Linked DNA regions of Homo sapiens: region 1 is linked to region 2. Evidence: promoter capture Hi-C in human tissues and cell types (Jung and others, 2019). All regions are on one chromosome and are shown on one strand. The core of a region is centred on a gene start or on the middle of the fragment in contact, and the rest is flanking DNA. Distances in the headings are between cores, read along the strand shown.

Region 1 (2,700 bases), core at 168-2,667, 190 kb after region 2:
AGGCTGAACTTGAGAGTATGTGTGAGGACTGCTGTGGTGAGATTGTATTCACACAGACTAGAGAATATCAAAAGTTATCACTAAACAAGTGGGAGAAATGCTAAAGTTTTACCCACTCTTTTTACACTGGCAGTTTTAAATAGTTCTTCACATTAGAAAATAGAACACTTAACCTCCCAGGGAAGTATGTTCCATTAGATTATATCTCCAAAGTATGGAACAATTCATTTCCAGGAAATAGGTACTTGAACAAGAGGCTTTATGAAAGTTATTTTTTCCATACAAAGTCATATTCCCACTTCCCATCCATTTACAAGAAGCAAAGTCTTAGTAGTGTTATAATGAATAGCTGATCTTTACTTCCATTTATTAACATGTAAGAAATATTCAGATCTAGCCTCAAAGTACGCAGCCATGTAAGCAAGAACAATTAATGGTTTAAGACATAAAGTTCAGAATCCATTAAAAATTGTAGTCTGGTCATTAGGTGATGAGTGGCAAAAGGCATTTAAAAAATGTTTTGAGGCATTTTAAATGACACGAGACTAGACGAGAATAGCTTGTATATAGAATAGTGATTCTCACCGTTTTTATATCAGAGATGCCTTGAGAATTTTATGCAAGTATAGGTCCACTTAGAAACATGCACACACAAAAAATTTAGGGGTTTCATTGAACCCTCCAAGTCAATTGTCTATCAGGTTTTGAATCTTTCTTTGCCCTAGACTTGCTTTCTAGTGCTTCTTTCCTTAGGAATACACATGCAACATGATGACTGTGGAAAACCAAGAACACTTGAGAGCAATGGAATCACATAGCATACTTCTGAATTTCACGAAGCATTGGATTTTGGTCTCAGTGAAATCGACTCCTGTATTACCAGTGCCATTGTCTTTCTCATGACATGGTAAAGGCTTGCTTTTGCTGCCGGAATAGCCTCTTAACTGTTCAGTCTGTTACTCTTCTTGCATCTTCCACTCCCTGTCACACTGGCTGCCAGAGCCATCAATCCAAATTATTCATCTCACAATTGGAACCCTTCACTGCCACCTCTACCTCATAAGCCCAAGTCCTGTATCATGACCTTTCATCTTGCCCCTGGGTATTATTCCAGCATCACATCCCACAGTTCCATTTTCCTCATACCCTCATTAGATGCTCAATAATTATACTCCGTCATTGCAGAAACTTTTATAGTTCCCTGAAACACAAGATCATGATCTATAATCTTCATTCTTCGCCCATTTGCTCAGACTTGACTTTCATCTCTTGTTCCCCTTGTGAACCATTCCTAATTCTTCAAAACTCAATGCAGAGTTCAGTTCCAGTGGGAACCCCTCCCAGGCAGTGCTAATCACTTCTCCCTCTGATTCATGGTATCTTGAGCAGGGTTCTAGTGTTGCTGAATAGGAGTCAAACAGATATTTTTGAATGAGTGGATTAATGAGCACAGGGAAGATGAGTTACAAAGCACTTTTTTTCTTTCTTGGGGAACATAGGTTGTTTTATGAGGGGAGAGCACAGGGTACATATTGGGATGCACTAGGCAGTTCTAACATGGCCCCATGCTACCACTTTTTGGTTTTCATGCCCTTATACAATCCCCTTCTCTAGAGTGTGGGTAGGCCTCACTTCTAATGTATATGATGCAGCAAAAGTGATGAGATGAGGTTACAAAAGAACGACTTCATTCTTGCTTGCATTCTCTCTCTGGCTCTTCTTGCTTCTTGCTCTGTTGAAGCCAGATGCCAAGTTGTGAGCTGCCGTATGGAGAAACCCATGTGGAAAATAACTGAGAGTAGCCTCCAGTCAATAGCCAGGGAGGGAAGAATCCTGCCAACAATCATGTGAGCAAGCTTGAAAGCAGATTCTTTTTCAGTTGAGCTTTGAGAGGAAAGCAGCCCCAGGTGACATTTTGAATACAGCCTTGAGAGAGATGCTGAGCTAGATAACCCAATTAAGCCATTCCTGGATTCCCAACCAACAGAAATGGCAAGATAATACATGTTATTTTAATCCACTAAGCTTTAGGGTAACTTGTTATGCAGCAATATGTTACCGATACGTAAGTGGTGGGAGATAAGACCAGAAAGACAGTTTGAGTCTACATGGTGAAGGGCCTTGTATGGCATGTGAAAGAGCAGTAGGCAGAAGAATGTCTTCCCACCACCCACTCCCAAGATGTTCATTTCCTAGTTCCTGAAAACTGTGAATGTATTAGGTCACATGGCAAGGTGGAATTCAGGTTGCTCCTGGAATTAAGGTTGCTAATGAGCTGACTTTAGAATAGGAAGATTAGTTTACATTATCTGGTAGGCTCAATGTAATCACAGGCGTCCTTACAATGCAATTACAGAGGGCCTTGAAGAGGAAAGCAGGAGAAACAGAGTCAGGGAAAGAGATGTGATGTTGAAAGCAGAGGCCAGAATGTTACAATTGCTGGCTTTGAAGATGCAAAGGGGCCATGAGCATCTGAAGAAACACAGTCAGCCTTCAGATGATAGAAAAGGCAGGGAAATGGATTCTCTCCCAGAGCCTGTAGAAGAAGCCCAACTCTTTTCACACCTTGATTTTAGTTCGGTGAGACCCATTTCAGACATGTGACCTGCAGAACTGTAAGATGATAAATGTGTCTTGTTTTAAGCTAAAAAAGAAAAATAATTCTAGTTATGCTTTTATTATACCATACTTAAATTTTTG
Region 2 (2,700 bases), core at 79-2,578:
GAAGAGTCCTTTGGTATACATTATATTTTACTGAATGGAAGAGAAACTTTCATTTTTGTAGGTAAATGGAATTTGTTAACTGATATAAGAATTATGAATCATATCACATTAAAAATTCTCCAAAGATAACTACTATGATATACTTTTGATAGAACAATATTCCCATTCCATTAAAATACTGAAATGACTGAAATGTGTATAAAATCTCTGCAAATTTAGTACACAGAAATAATCACATAGAAATAGTTACCAGAAACTACAATTGTAATGAATAAATATTACATTCATTTAGAAATCAATCCACAGCCTTAATTTCTTAAGAACTATTAGCTTCCAAGAAGCCAGCCAGTATGTTTGATTTTATGACATCACACTGGAACATGTACAGGAACACTTTCCACCCTAAAAATTCCCAAATGTACTGGCCACTGTGTGTATTTTTCCAGTGATAAATGAAAATAAAGCAACTTATTCTCAAATTAATAAGCCATCTTATTTTGAACACAACAGTCACATTCAATGGAAGAAAACTACTTAATCGAAGCCCAAACAAGTTTAGGTTTGTTTTTGGTGGGGAACAGTCTCAACATACAAATAATTTCTTTAAGCAACTTTTAACAGTAATCTTAACTATGACTATAAATTCTCTTCAGTGCATTCAAATTATCCATCAACATCATTGTATATATGAAATGCATCATCATTCTATGATCTTAAGTTCATAATTAGCTGGAGAAGGAAGCCTGGGCCAAAAATGGCAACATTTCTAAGATTATTAATCTAACAGGTATTACCTATGCCTAAAGTAACTTTCTTTTTCACATAACCCTATATATTCTCTGAAACAAAATTCATAAGCCTGGCTGGACATTCCCATTCCTCACCTTTCCCTTCAGCCTATACTATCCTTGTTTCATCTCAGGTGCTATAAAAATGGTTGTTGAGATACAGATAGAAAAGTCACCACTTGGAAACCATGACCCTACCAGATTTACAGGAGCACTAGCAGAAGCTAAGATACTAGAGTTAATTCTTTCTCCATTTTTAGACTGAGCCTGTTTATTGTAGTGAAATATTTTATCCGACAATATGAAACTTTTTTAAAAGTTGAGGTGTCATATTAAATTCAAATGAAAACTAAACTCAAAAGAAAAGAATAAAATTTGTTTAATGTATATATACATTGCATGTGTATTGCCCTCTGAAATCTTAAAGGCACAAAGGTATAACCAAAAGAGGGGGAAACAATTTGCAAGTTTTACCTTGTCCTGAAATCCAGGAGTTCGGATGCTCTCAAGTTCTGCTTAAGTTGGAAGCTGGAGATCAAGTGAAGCTAGCGCTCTTTCTCCTCACCTTAAGTTTGTCTCTGGGCGAGTGTGAGAGTGTGTGTGTGTGTGCGTGTGTGAGTGTGTGTGCAGAATGTCTCTTTGTGGCGCTGGATGGCAGAGGTCCTGATCCTGGGAAGAAGGAGGCACTTTCTCACCAAGAGCAGAAGAAAAGCAAAGCGTCACCAGGAAAGTTCTCCTCCCAAATCCCCTAATTACAGCCTAATGTGCACTTCATGCAAACTTCAGGGAGGAAGGGAGGGGCAGCTCTGTGCCCAGACCTTGTAAAGCAGCAGCCTCTTAGATGACTTTCCCCTCTGCTCAGATCCCGAGTATCCCGCTCTGGGGTTTAGGAAAGCCGGCCGCTACAGCCACACAAGCCCCCACCACACCACACCTCCCGAACCCGAACCCTCATCAGTCCTGGGTCTGTCCAGAAGGGATGGGACAAGGGGTCTGTGGAATGATCTGCGGGGCAGCGGTGTGAGCAGACTCCTCAGGACAGTCAGTTTGCGCTTTGTTTTATTAGCCTCTGCTTAAAAGAAAAATCCAAGGGTCGGAGAGGTCCTCTCTTTCCCGCCTTCCCCTCACCAAAGGAGATCAAGGATAACAGACAATGATGATAGTGGCACATAAAGCTTCTTAAACTGGAGATGGCCTTCCACCCAAATCACCAGAAGCATATTTTCTGGTTTACTGGACTCAGTATTGGTGTTGAGTTTAAATTTCTCTTAACAAACAACTGCTATTGTATCCTTGGATGACAGAGCTCAAAGAACCTGGATTTATTTATAGAACGAGGAATGCGAGGGGGAGACGGGATGGGTGGGGTTGGGTTGTGGATCCATAACCAGGATTAGAACCAGATGGGCACAGGGCGCGCGCGCGCACACACACACACACACACACACACACACACACACACAGACACACACACCCCTGAAATAACCAGTGGGGAAGATGCTGGGACACGCGGGAAAACGCCTCCTGAACAAATAGACGTTTATTTATAACTTCTGGGAGAGTATATAGGTCCATTGATTCCCGCCTTGAGTAACCAAGGGTTTTGGAGAGGAAATGGCTTCATATTTCAATAACAGAGCCACCTTTGATGGAGTCTAGGAAGGGGAAAAAAGAAACACACCGCAGGAAGCAAACGGCTGTTGGAGCAGCCGGGAGGAGGGAGCGGGGCTGGCCCTGGGACTGAGGACAAGCAAACAAGCTCGAGGGGCCCGCGGCCAGGGTGGAGGCGAGACGCAGGCCGTCCCCGAGTTGCAGCGAGCAGGGCCCGGTGTCGCGGAGCGCTGGGGACGTGCGGGGATTCGCGGCCGTGCTCCCGGCTCCAACCTCCGGCCCCGGCGGGGCGGCGCGGGCG

The links. The method cuts DNA at HindIII sites, captures the fragments that hold promoters and counts their contacts. A contact is called where the count stands out against the background at its distance.
Region 1: a contact is called between a fragment that was not itself captured here and the fragment with the promoter of HAPLN1 in region 2, in 1 of the 25 tissues and cell types used here (hippocampus).

Annotation. Positions count from the first base shown.
Region 1 is chr5:83,906,599-83,909,298 of GRCh38, forward strand. No RefSeq gene overlaps it. Among named protein-coding and RNA genes, the nearest start is that of HAPLN1, 190 kb to the left of the region's middle. The HindIII fragment of the contact is 3,146 bases long and covers 1-2,700 here.
Region 2 is chr5:83,719,527-83,722,226 of GRCh38, forward strand. It overlaps HAPLN1 (hyaluronan and proteoglycan link protein 1), which reads right to left and starts at 1,329. Exons shown (of 5, transcript NM_001884.4): 1 at 1,263-1,329. The HindIII fragment of the contact is 27,926 bases long and covers 1-2,700 here.